Linked DNA regions of Homo sapiens: regions 2 and 3 are each linked to region 1. The links are contacts of gene promoters, found by promoter capture Hi-C in blood cells and fetal thymus (Javierre and others, 2016). All regions are on one chromosome and are shown on one strand. Each heading gives the region's core, a stretch centred on a gene start or on the middle of the fragment in contact. The rest is flanking DNA. Distances are from core to core; before and after follow the strand shown. Region 1 holds the start of MIR4757 (microRNA 4757). Region 2 holds the start of LDAH (lipid droplet associated hydrolase). Region 3 holds the start of RHOB (ras homolog family member B).

Region 1 (4,400 bases), core at 1,230-3,729:
TGGCAAAATGTGTATTACTTTTAACTCTACACAAAGTGAATGAGGTAGGTAGGAAAAGCCCTACCCCCATTATAGGAAGAAAACTGAGGCTAGTGAAGCACAGGGACTTCCCCAAAACTTGTGCTTGTCAGAAAAACCTAGAGCTGGGTCTTCTGGCCCTTCCCCTCAATGAAAGCACAGCTTCGAATTCTTTCTCTGCCACTGACATGAGATTTGTCTCCAACCTAGCATCTCAAGTCCGTAATGAATTTTTCATCTGAAACATATGCCAACTGGGCCCAACTACCAACTGGGCTCTAGAGACGGCCCAGGAAGTCGGGATGAACGGGTGGAGTGGGACACCAGGGCGTTCCACCGGGCTGAAGACCGTCTGAGAGCTCTACCTCAGAGAGGCTGCCCAAAAGAGCTGGGACCGCAGCGAACTTTCTGGCCTTGGGTAGGACCCGCCGCGCCACCCTCGCCAGCTCAGATCCCAGGGGCCTCTGTAGGACCGCGGCGCTGGACTGGGCACTCCAAGTCAAGGGCTCCAGCCCGCATTAGCCAAGCGCCACCCACTTTCTCGTCTGCATTTTCTGCCCACACATACGCCAACGGCTGGATGCGCCCGCCGGGCCAGTGTGCCCCTGAGTTTGTGATCCCCAAAAGCAAAACACTGAACTCCGCGACGATTTCCACGCACCGCCGTCAGCTTCCGGACTCCGGCACCAGCAGCACTGGCCTGCGAGTTCCTTTTGCGCCTGCGCGTGGCGCTTGCGCAGTGGGAGAGGAGGGCGGGGCCGCAGTGGGCGCGGCCATAGTGGGCGCAGAAGTGGGTGGGATGAGTACGCCGCGGCAACTGCTGCCCTGAAACCCCGCGGGCAGGGAGACCACTCTAAACCACTGATTCAAGAAGAGGACGCTGCAGGGCACCGCCCTTCACTCAGGACAGCTGCCAACGCTTCGGGTCTGCGGATCGTGTTAGTGGAGACGAACCGATTCGTGGCGCCTGCCTGGGCCGATTCGCGGGGCGGGGCGGGGCGGGGCTGAGAGGTGTGGATATGTTAGCCCGAGGCGGGGCCCATCTGTGACGTCACGAAGTTACGTAATGGAATGCCTCTGTGGACCTCATTCAAGCCTTGTGTTCCAGCCCGAGGCCTCTGTGACGTCACGGTGTCTGCGGGAGGAGACCATGACGTCACAGAGGCTTCGCGCTCTGAGAGGTGGGACGGGACTCTTTTGAGCCGGCTATGGGGACACCAAGATTCTAGGGGATTTAGGATATCAGGTCCTCAGGTTCTGGGAGCTGAGGTCACGTCAGGGAGTCCCAGAGCATCACATTGCGTCCCTCCCCACAATGTGAGCAGTGAATTCCGCGGCAAGGAAGTACGCGGGAAAACATTTTTTAGTGGGTCCCTAACCCCTAACTACACTCTGGAAATAGGGGGTAGAACCTGAAACACTCTCTCCCAGGAAGAAGCTCCTGCAAGCTGTTCTTTTCCCTGGAAGCACCTGATATCTTACCGGAGACAGCATCTGGCAGTTCCGGGCTGTGCCCAGGGTCTCTGGCACCTTCCGCCCTCCCTGCCCAAGAGGCTGTCCTAGGCCAGATAGCTTCCCCAGCCGTACACAAAAACTTCAGGCCTAGCAGCTTTGAGAAGGGCCCCAGCTGAACTCCACCTGGCCAGCACCATCGGCCTCTTTTTCTCCTGAAAAATAGCCCCAGCAACGCTGAGCGCCACACAGTCACTGGGACCAGCGAAGCTTATTGTGATGGGGGTCTGGAGAGGAGACAAGAGCTGGGACTTTCTAGAGATGCATTGGGGGAAAAATTGGGGCAGGCAAGGAAACCCACCCAACATTTCTGACCCTCTCAATTGCACTTTTTGTGCAACCCACACTGAGTATGAGCAGGAAACTGGGGCACTAGTTTCCAACCACATCAACCAACCACATCACCTGGGAATTGTAGCCTGGATAGGGTCGGATGGCCCACAGGCCCAGCCGGCCTTTCCACCTGTAGTTACTGTTTCTGCACAGTCTATGAATCACTAGAACAAGCTGCAGGGAGACGTGATCTCTGAGTCCACCGGGATAACAGCAAACATCAGTAGAGCAAATAGGGGCATTCTGAGAGGGCCAGGGAGTTGCTGCGCATCATCCTGTCCCACCCTCCATTCCCCATCCCCAATTTAAAATTCTGCACTGGAAATCTGTTATTTTGAGGATGCACACTTGATACTGACATTCAGTTGCAGACCTTGGACTGGGTGGGTTTTCACAGTGCTGGAGGTGGGGTGACCCAAAAAGGATTAACGTGGCTGGCAAACCTCCCCATTTCACCGCATTTGTAGCTTCCTGAGGCCCCGGGAACTGCAGAGGCTCGATCTTCAGGGAGGTGGAATGATGTGTTCTGGGAGGTGGAGGGATGTCAGGGGCTAGGGAAGAGCAGCCATAGACAACCCCAAGGATAGCATCCCAGAAAGAGCCAAGGGACTAGGAAGGGCACCCTGTGTGTGTGTGTGTTCACCCATGCACTCTGGTTGTTTTGGAGCAACCATGGCCCGCAGCCTCCTGGGGCTTCATAAAGAAACCAAGGAAGATTCTGCAGTTGACCCTAGTACAAGCTATGGTCAGGCACAAACCACACCACAACCTGCGTGCGCCGCTTGGGCGCAGACCGTCTACACCACCCGCAAACCTACTGGCTAGCCCCACTTCCACGCACTCAGAGGCCCCAGTTCTCAGGAATGGGGGCATAATCCTGGGCCGCGCGCGACCTTGTGAACTGCTTGGAAGAAGGATTGGGATAGTGCCCAACTAATGAAGATCCCTCAGACCAGACCAGACTCAGCAGCGCCCTGCCCCTCATCCACAGTGGGTCCTGGGGCCAGTCAAGATTTTGGGACCAAACACATAGATGCTTGGTGGTTTCGCGAGGTTGCGGGCAAGACCCCTTGAGGTGCCAAGTCCTGGGCCGCCCCTCCAGGGCTGGCCAGCAGGGGGCAGCGTGGCTCTGAGCGTGGAGGCCAGGGCTGGTCCGCGCCGGCAGGGCCAGCCTCCAGTGCCCAGTTGGGTTCCCGGGCCTCGAAGTTCTAGCCCGCACAGGACTCAGGAGCGTTCCCGGAGGAGGTGGGGATGGGGTGGTGAAAGCCCAGAGCGTTTTAACTTCTGCATCCCCTGCCGCTTTCTCAGCCAGCAGGGCCCGGCTTGAGGCTGGGATTTTTGGTGCCTGCAGCAGGGAAGCTTATAGTCCAGTTGTCATCCGCGGCCGCCGCGCTCCGGGCGCTGAAGCTGGAGAGGCCATCCTGCGCTTGGGAAAGGCCGCGGGCGCCACCGCCTGCGCGGTCCCGCGGTCAGGGCGCTGGAGCTGGGGGGAGCCCCGCCTTGCCCCAAGGAGAAGAGCCCCGGCGGCCTGGCTTCTAACTGTGGGAAAACTAGACACCCCAGGGAAGGTTCAGCTTATGGAAGGCGGACTCGAATTTTTCCTCCTAAGCGTCCCGGGCCTCCCAGGGCGCCCGCCCCCACCATTCCTGACAAGGCTTTAAAATTGTAGGGAATCTTCGCGGGTGCAGAGCCTCGATCCTAGGAGGGGACAAGTCCCAAGCAGAGAATTGTGTCTGAGGGACCCTAAGGGAGGGAGTGATGTTGGTTTGGGGTTCCGGGGAGGCAGCGGTCATTGTGTATTTGCACCCGAGTGTTGAGACCCGGGGAACGGGAAATATTACAGCTCTGAGGCTCTGTGAGGGCGGGTCCTTCCCACCCCAAAGCCAGAGGCCAGGAGGGAGGCCTTCGGTTAGGGTGGGGAAAGACATTCTCTTCTCTTCTTGCACCCTAAGCGATCTCAGCACCCAGAGACGCTGTCTCAGCACCCAGAGACTCTGGGATTTCTCACGGGCGGTTTTCTGCCTTCAGGCTTAGGTTCTTCGTAAACTCACAGCACTTTAGCGGTGAGGAGTGGGAAGGCTGAGACCCTATCCCTGAGGCGGAGGAGAAAAGTAGGAAAATCAATACATGGTGGGGCGGAGGCAGACCTAACCGGGAGAGAGGACGTTGCTCCACACATCTCAGCCCTGTCATCCTAATAAGACGGGGTGGTAGGAGGGGGACACGCTGGCGTCCAGCAGAGAAACCTGGTCCTCTCAAAGAGAGGACCCAACCGGTTTCCTGCGTTTAGGAGGGAAATTACCCATCCTGCAATGCCTGTAAAATAACCGTTTATTTAATAGTTAAAAAAAAAAAAAACTCCAGTGATAAATGTCCGTTACCGATGGTCAGCATAAAGTGCCAATCGCAATATAACGCCCGGCTCTTGGCTGGCTGCTCCCTCGCAGTGTCGCGGCAGCGGAGGCCGGGCCCCCTGCAGACCCCAGGCCCGAGGTCCCCGTCCCGCTCTCCTAGTCCCGGAGCCCACGGCCGCCAGC
Region 2 (4,400 bases), core at 1,389-3,888, 1.5 Mb after region 1:
CATCTACAACTATCTGATCTTTGACAAACCTGACAAAAACAAGAAATGGGGAAAGGATTCCCTACTTAACAAATGGTGCTGGGAAAACTGGCTAGCCATATGTAGAAAGCTGAAACTGGATCCCTTCCTTACACCTTATACAAAAATTAATTCAAGATGGATTAAAGACTTAAATGTTAGACCTAAAACCATAAAAACCCTAGAAGAAAACCTAGGCAATACCATTCAGGACATAGGCATGGGCAAGGACTTCATGTCTAAAACACCAAAAGCAATGGCAACAAAAGCCAAAATTGACAAATGGGATCTAATTTAACTAAAGAGCTTCTGCACAGCAAAAGAAACTACCATCAGAGTGAACAGGCAACCTACAGAATGGGAGAAAATTTTTGCAACCTACTCATCTGACAAAGGGCTAATATCCAGAATCTACAAAGAACTCAAACAAATTTACAAGAAAAAAACAAACAACCCCATCAAAAAGTGGGTGAAGGATATGAACAGACACTTCTCAAAAGAAGACATTTATGCAGACAAAAAACACATGAAAAAATGCTCATCATCACTGGCCATCAGAGAAATGCAAATCAAAACTACAATGAGACATCTTCTCACAGCAGTTAGAATGGTGATCATTAAAAAGTCAGGAAACAACAGGTGCTGGAGAAGATGTGGAGAAACAGGAACACTTTTACACTGTTGGTGGGACTGTAAACTAGCTCAACCATTGTGGAAGTCAGTGTGGCGATTCCTCAGGGATCTAGAACTAGAAATACCATTTGACCCAGCCATCCCATTACTGGGTATATACCCAAAGGAATATAAATCATGCTGCTATAAAGACACATGCACATGTATGTTTATTGCAGCACTACTTACAATAGCAAAGACTTGGAACCAACCCAAACGTCCAACAATGATAGACTGGATTAAGAAAATGTGGCACATATACACCATGGGATACTATGCAGCCATAAAAAAGAATGAGTTCATGTCCTTTGTAGGGACATGGATGAAGCTGGAAACCATCATTCTCAGCAAACTATCGCAAGGACAAAAAACCAAACACCACATGTTCTCACTCATAGGTGGGAATTGAACAATGAGAACACTTGGACACAGGAAGGGGGAGATCACACACCGGGGCCTGTTGTGGGGTGGGGTGAGTGGGGAGGGATAGCATTAGGAGATATACCTAATGTAAATGACAAGTTAATGGGTGCAGCACACCAACATGGCACATGTATACATATGTAACAAACCTGCACGTTGTGCATATGTACCCTAGAACTTAAAGTATAATTTTAAAAAAATTAAAAAAAAGAAAGAAAAAATCCTCCAGTCTGAAGGCATTAAGTTATCAAAAAGCAAAATATTAAAATATAAAATTTTAGATGGGCACCCACTGTGTTGCCCTGATTATCCCCCTAGAATGCTACATGCTGGAAAGAGGGGCCTTAGCAGGTTTCTAAGTCTTTAACCTTCAGGTGGAAAAATGGGGAAACACACAAGAGACACTCCTACGTATAGTTTCAGAAAGAAGTTTAATTAAAAAACAGCTTTTGAGAATAAACATTCTGGAGATGCTTCTAAATCTTCTGGGTTTCTTTTGGTTGTATCTCTTTCTCCATACAGATTTGTTCTTTCAACTCAAGGACTATCAACTCTTTTTTTTTTTTTGAGACTGAGTCTCACTTTGTCGCCCAGGCTAGAGTGCAGTGGCGCCATCTCGGCTCACTGCAAGCTCCACCTCCCGGGTTCACGCCATTCTCCTGCTTCAGTCTCCCGAGTAGCTGGGACTACAGGCGCCCGCCACCACGCCCGGCTAATTTATTTATTTATGTATTTATTTTTGTATTTTTAGTAAAGATGGGGTTTCACCGTGTTAGCCAGGATGGTCTCGATCTCCTGACCTCCTGATCCGCCCGCCTCGGGGTCCCAAAGTGCTGGGATTACAGGCGTGAGCCACGGCGCCCGGCCAGGACTATCAACTCTTGTGTTTGGTACACAGGACACAAAGCAGGTGTCCGGTAACTACTTGCGAGGGAAGATACGAATTAACCAAGGAATAAAGTGTTCCAATCTGCATTCTGTCTTGCGTGGGGAACAAAACCAAACTAAGACCCAAGGATGAGGGTTTACGGTTAAGGTCTTCAGCGTGAATAAAAGGCGGCGTGAGCACTAAACGCCGGGGGCAAAGAACACTCCCGGCCCAGAGTTTGACCCCTCCTAGCGAGTTCTTCCCGGCCAGCTGCCCAACTTTTTGGCCTCTACTCCTCCGCGGGGGCACCATAAGACTCCCTACAGGTGGGCTACACTTAGGGGTTCAAATGCTGCATTACCGCGCTCGGGTGAGCGACTGCCCGGCCTGCAACTCAAGGGACTCCCAGGCCAAGTGGCTCCGAACTCGCGAGCTGTCGGAACAGTATTATTTTTGCTGCTACGGGCCATCTGGCCCAGGGCAACAGGGGCTCTGCGAGGAACCATAGAGAAGAAGGGGCGCCAGATCCCGCGTGCCTGCCCACCCGTCCTTCCTTTGGGCAGTCACCCTGAGCTCGGCAAGCTGTACCTCACCTGTCCACCTGGAAGGCTGCCCGCTCTCCCTGAGGGTCCTGGGAAGGCGGCACGAGACCGGAAGTGCCCCCCTCAGGTGACGTCACAGTACCGCGCCGGAGCTGATCCGGGAAGCCGATGTCAGCCTGGCGCGCGGCGCACAGCTGGCTGGGAGATTTCTTACTGGCTTGGAGCCGGTGGTCCAGATCAGAGAGACCTCTTGGAGGGTGTCGGGGTTTTCCTTTCTTTTTCATTTGAATTTTATCCGCCTTTTATTTTCTGTCATCCTTGATGTGCTTCTGGCTTCTGGCTTCCCTTTCCTTCTCTCTCATTTGTTCCATGTCTGCCCCTCTTTTCTCCCTCTTCCCATTTCCCTCTTTCTGCGTTACTAGTTGCATATCTTCCCCACATACACAGGAAAGTTGATTCTCATTTGATCATGTTCATAAGCATGATCAATAAAGTATTTTTTTAATTAAGGTGTTGCCAACTTTAAGAAAATTCAGAGAATAATATTAAGTATAGAGTTTATTTGGGCTCAGTGCTTGAGAATGGCCACTCAGGAGCTTAGATTCAAGTTGCCTTGAATATACACTCCAATTAGCAGCAGTCGGAGTAGGTTTTTTTTTTTTTTTTTTTTTTTTTTTGAGACGGAGTCTTGCTCTGTCGCCCAGGCCGGACTGCGGACCGCAGTGGCGCAATCTCGGCTCACTGAAAGCTCCGCTTCCCGGGTTCACGCCATTCTCCTGCCTCAGCCTCCCGAGTAGCTGGGACTACAGGCGCCCGCCACCGCGCCCGGCTAATTTTTTGTATTTTTAGTAGAGACGGGGTTTCACCTTGTTAGCCAGGATGGTCTCGATCTCCTGACCTCATGATCCACCCGCCTCGGCCTCCCAAAGTGCTGGGATTACAGGCGTGAGCCGGTTTTTAAGGAAAGGAGAGGAGGCAGAGCTTAACTTGTTTACCAAGAATTTATATTTAAAAAACTTAAGCTATTGACTGGCTATGCTTTCTTCCTTGTATCACAAATTCCAGGAACATAAAGATAATGGGTGAGGCAGCTAATAAAGAACAAAATGCCTTTAACAATTGCCCTAAGGCATGGGAAGGCGTGGCGGAAGCCAGTATTCACTTCTGTCCGGGTCTAATAAATTTTGCATACCTCACATAGCTCAGACAGCTCTGGGCTATTTTTCTTTTCTTAGTATGTACTTTTTTTAGACATAATACTGTTGTACACAATAATCTACAGTACAGTGTAAATATAAATTTTATATGCACTGGGAAACCAAAAAAATTCTGTGAACTGCCTTATTGTGATGTTTGCTTTATTGTGGTAGTATGGAACTGAACCCCCAATATCTTCAAAGTATGCTTGGATTTAAAAAAGAGGTTTACTTAGCTCATGGTTCTGCACATTGGAAAGCTCAAGGGGCATAGTGTGAGCATCTGCTCAGTTCTGGTTAGAGTTTTTTGTGCAGTGTCACAACATGGTAGAAGGTCAAAGGGGAAGCTGATACATGTGAAAACAGACCAAACAGGAGGTGGAAAACAACCCACTCTCTCAGGGACTCTCTCTTTTCCAATCTCTCAAGAGCTGTTATCAAACCAAACTGGAGTCCAATTGCCTGTGCAGCAAGACCAAACACTGACATCAGGATTATAGTGAAAGAAAGTGAGGCATTTATTGTAGGGTCCCAAGCAAGGAGAACTGGTCAGTTAGTGCTTAAGTCTTGAACTCCCTAATTGTTTATAGGTAAGGGTTTTTAAATGCAGGGGTGTCAGAGGTTATAGGCAAAGTCATAAATCAATATATGGAGGTTATATATTGGCTTAACCTAAAAATG
Region 3 (4,400 bases), core at 939-3,438, 1.1 Mb after region 1:
TTTTTTTTTCTTTTGAGCCAGGGTCTCATTCTGTCACCCAGGCTGGAGTGGGGTGTTGTGATCATAGCTCACTGCAGCCTTGCCCTCCTGGGCTCAAGCAATCCTCCCACCTCAGCCTCCTGAGTAGTTGAGATTATAGGTGCAGGCCACTCTCCTCCCCACGCCATCCCATTTTATTTTTCTCAGGGACAGGGACGGGGTTTTGTCATGTTACCCAGGCTGGTCTTGAACTCCTGAGCTCAAACAATTCTCCAGCCTGGGCCTCCCACGCCCAGGGATCACAGGCATGAGGTACTGTGCCCGGCCTGGTTAGATAATTGTTAAAGCGAAGTGTGGAACTGAGGTAAGAAACCCCCAGAAAATTCCACCTGCGTTTCTGAGCATTCGGGTTAATTCCCCACAGTCATTTACTGATCCTTGTAAATGCCAGGCATTGTGCTGGGTCTTCAAGATGCGGAGATAAGACAGAATCCTGGCCCTCCAACAACTGACAGAGACCGAGACAGAGACGGAGACAGGAGGCAACCACCTCCCGGTCATGTGGTGGGTCCCTCCTTTGCTGAAAAAACAGTTTGCAGACATTTCCCATGCAATGGATAGACAGAGCCCAGCCCATGCTGTTAATACTTTAGCACTCATGAGCCCCAGCATATGCAGCTCCTAGAGTTTGCCCCGCTCCTTCCCACCTTCCTGCTTGTGTTCAGGCTGTTTCTCCTGCCCGGGAGCCCTCCCCGACTCCCCTTTCCCCCTATCCCCTTCTTCCTCTTTTATCCGTAGAAATCGGTTGACTTGGGTCTTTCCGGATCACCGGTACTGTCATTTCATGCAGGATCTACAGGATAAATGAGTTCAGTCCTGGCGTGCATCAGGAGGCTACGCCCCAATAGAGGGGACACCCCCTAACCCGCTGTGCCCCATTTGCTAGCCCCTTACTCCTCCCCTCTTCTCCAGCCTCAAGCCTTTTCGTCTGCTCAGGGGTCTTGGGGTGGTTGGATTCTATTGAACCCGGAATATTGTACGTTCTATTGTACAATAGTGTATATTCTATTGTACATTCTATTGTACAATAGTGTATATTCTATTGTACATTCTATTGTACAATAGTGTATATTCTATTGTACATTCTATTGTACAATAGTGTATATTCTATTGTACATTCTATTGTACAATAGTGTATATTCTATTGTACATTCTATTGTACAAGTGTATATTCTATTGTACATTCTATTGTACAATAGTGTATATTCTATTGTACATTCTATTGTACAATAGTGTATATTCTATTGTACATTCTATTGTACAATAGTGTATATTCTATTGTACAATTTATCTCAGACAGTTCTCTGTTTTAAGAACCGGGATCAGAGTTCATAGTGAAAAGAGGGGCCGAAGGGGCTTCTTCCTGTCCGGTAACTTCCTCCAAGTGTTCGAGCCTCGACCTTCCCTTTCCGTTGTCAAGCTTGGGCCACTCCGCACCTCTTCCCTTAATCTTCACCTAGAGACCTAAGCTGGGGGTTGGGAAGGGTAGGGGCGGCGGGACTTGGAAGAGCCAGTTTGCAGCCAGCCGGTCGCCTCTCGGGTCCAAACCCGAGGCTGGCCCACGGCGAGTACCCGGGTGGGGCCCTAAACCACAGGAGGGGCCACCTCCAAAAGAAAAGAGAAAACACTCTTGTTTGGGAACAAAAGTGTGTGTGTGGGGTGTGTGTGTGTGTGTGTGTGTGTGTGTGTCTGTTTATTTAAAAACAAAACCACGTTAAAAGAGCTGCCCCTCCCCCACAGGCCCGACCACCCGCCGGGAGTTTGCCAGGAAGAGGGGCAATTCTGAATGGGAGTCGCCAACGCCCCACTGAGTGAAGCCTGTCTCGGAACCGCTCGCCCAGACCCTGGAGGCTCCAGACAGCCAGCTCCCGGACCCCGCGCGCAAACGCTGCGGCGAAGGAGGGGACCCGGGTACCGCCAGAGCCCCGCAGCGGCAGCAGCAGCGCGGACTCCCCGGTCGCTGCCTCTCCCAGCCCGGCGGCCTGGGCCGTCAATCAAGCTGGCCCTGCCCCGCCCTCGGGCTGCAGGGGGCGGCCAATCAGAGCTAAGCTCCGCAGCGATGAGCTCAGCCGGCTGGTTTCCCATTGGACGGCTATATTAAGAAAGTGGCCGGACTCTTTAAATAGCGGGCGCTAGGGCCGCAGCCCTCATCTGCCACCGCAGTCTGGTTGGAGCTGTTGTCTTGTATGCTCAGCGAGGCCCGGAGAGACCCGGGAGAGAGCTAGGCCGAGTCCACCGCCCGAGTCTGCTGCCCGAGCCCGCGTTACGCACAAAGCCGCCGATCCCCGGCCTGGGGTGAGCAGAGCGACCACCGCCCGGGAGCAGCGCGGCGAGACGCACGGTGCGCCCTATGCCCCCGCGCCCCCACCGCCCCCGCCGCGGCAGCCGAAGCGCAGCGAGAGAACGCGCCACCGCGGGGCCCGGGTGCAGCTAGCGACCCTCTCGCCACCTGCGCGCAGCCCGAGGTGAGCAGTGAGCGGCGAGCGGGAGGGCAGCGAGGCGTTCGCGGGCCCCCTCCTGCTGCCCGGGCCCGGCCCGCTCATGGCGGCCATCCGCAAGAAGCTGGTGGTGGTGGGCGACGGCGCGTGTGGCAAGACGTGCCTGCTGATCGTGTTCAGTAAGGACGAGTTCCCCGAGGTGTACGTGCCCACCGTCTTCGAGAACTATGTGGCCGACATTGAGGTGGACGGCAAGCAGGTGGAGCTGGCGCTGTGGGACACGGCGGGCCAGGAGGACTACGACCGCCTGCGGCCGCTCTCCTACCCGGACACCGACGTCATTCTCATGTGCTTCTCGGTGGACAGCCCGGACTCGCTGGAGAACATCCCCGAGAAGTGGGTCCCCGAGGTGAAGCACTTCTGTCCCAATGTGCCCATCATCCTGGTGGCCAACAAAAAAGACCTGCGCAGCGACGAGCATGTCCGCACAGAGCTGGCCCGCATGAAGCAGGAACCCGTGCGCACGGATGACGGCCGCGCCATGGCCGTGCGCATCCAAGCCTACGACTACCTCGAGTGCTCTGCCAAGACCAAGGAAGGCGTGCGCGAGGTCTTCGAGACGGCCACGCGCGCCGCGCTGCAGAAGCGCTACGGCTCCCAGAACGGCTGCATCAACTGCTGCAAGGTGCTATGAGGGCCGCGCCCGTCGCGCCTGCCCCTGCCGGCACGGCTCCCCCTCCTGGACCAGTCCCCCGCGAGCCCGGAGAAGGGGAGACCCGTGTCCCACAAGGACCCCACCGGCCTGCCTGGCATCTGTCTGCTGACGCCTCTGGCTTGCGCCAGGACTTGGCGTGGGCACCGGGCGCCCCCATCCCAGTGTCTGTGTGCGTCCAGCTGTGTTGCACAGGCCTGGGCTCCCCACTGAGTGCCAAGGGTCCCCTGAGCATGCTTTTCTGAAGAGCCGGGCCTCAGAGTGTGTGGCTGTGTGTCTGTTCGACTCCCCTCGCCCCATTTTCACCCCACCCCCGCCTCTGATCCCCGGGGGCGAGATTGGCGCGGGAGTGTGGCCGCGCCCCATCAGATGTTCGCCCTTCACCAGCGGGAGCTTGATATCCCTTGTCTGTAACATAGACCCCGGGTACTGCGGGAGGGGAGGGCTGCTGGGGAGGATGGGGGGATGTTATATAAATATAGATATAATTTTATTTTCGGAGCTAAGATGGTGTTATTTAAGGGTGGTGATGGGTGAGCGCTCTGGCCCAGGCTGGGCCAGACTCCCGCCCAAGCATGAACAGGACTTGACCATCTTTCCAACCCCTGGGGAAGACATTTGCAACTGACTTGGGGAGGACACAGCTTCAGCACAGCCTCTCCTGCGGGCCAGCCCGCTGCGAACCCTCCACCAGCTACCGGAGGGAGGAGGGAGGATGCGCTGTGGGGTTGTTTTTGCCATAAGCGAACTTTGTGCCTGTCCTAGAAGTGAAAATTGTTCAGTCCAAGAAACTGATGTTATTTGATTTATTTAAAGGCTAAAATTTGTTTTTTTATTCTTTGCACAATTGTTTCATTGTTTGACACTTAATGCACTCGTCATTTGCATACGACAGTAGCATTCTGACCACACTTGTACGCTGTAACCTCATCTACTTCTGATGTTTTTAAAAAATGACTTTTAACAAGGAGAGGGAAAAGAAACCCACTAAATTTTGCTTTGTTTCCTTGAAGAATGTGGCAACACTGTTTTGTGATTTTATTTGTGCAGGTCATGCACACAGTTTTGATAAAGGGCAGTAACAAGTATTGGGGCCTATTTTTTTTTTTTCCACAAGGCATTCTCTAAAGCTATGTGAAATTTTCTCTGCACCTCTGTACAGAGAATACACCTGCCCCTGTATATCCTTTTTTCCCCTCCCCTCCCTCCCA

The links. The method cuts DNA at HindIII sites, captures the fragments that hold promoters and counts their contacts. A CHiCAGO score of 5 or more calls a contact.
Region 2: the fragment with the promoter of LDAH here is called in contact with a fragment that was not itself captured in region 1 in 3 of 17 cell types (total CD4 T cells, total B cells and M0 macrophages); the score reaches 7.2 in total CD4 T cells.
Region 3: the fragment with the promoter of RHOB here is called in contact with a fragment that was not itself captured in region 1 in 1 of 17 cell types (total CD8 T cells); the score reaches 5.3 in total CD8 T cells.

What each region holds. Positions count from the first base shown.
Region 1 is chr2:19,347,309-19,351,708 of GRCh38, forward strand. It overlaps OSR1 (odd-skipped related transcription factor 1), which reads right to left. Exons shown (of 3, transcript NM_145260.3): 3 at 4,177-4,400. It overlaps MIR4757 (microRNA 4757), which reads left to right and starts at 1,121; the gene lies at 1,121-1,197. RefSeq lists enhancers at 219-278, 429-698, 749-878, 3,202-3,271. The HindIII fragment of the contact is 1,482 bases long and covers 1,739-3,220 here.
Region 2 is chr2:20,820,463-20,824,862 of GRCh38, forward strand. LDAH (lipid droplet associated hydrolase) reads right to left here and starts at 2,639. Exons shown (of 7, transcript NM_021925.4): 1 at 2,575-2,639. RefSeq lists enhancers at 1,515-2,340, 2,143-2,212, 2,433-2,822. The HindIII fragment of the contact is 14,255 bases long and covers 1-4,400 here.
Region 3 is chr2:20,444,886-20,449,285 of GRCh38, forward strand. It overlaps RHOB (ras homolog family member B), which reads left to right and starts at 2,189. Exons shown (of 1, transcript NM_004040.4): 1 at 2,189-4,400. The coding sequence starts at 2,581. The coding sequence ends at 3,171. RefSeq lists silencers at 1,898-2,147, 2,398-2,607. The HindIII fragment of the contact is 3,675 bases long and covers 1,458-4,400 here.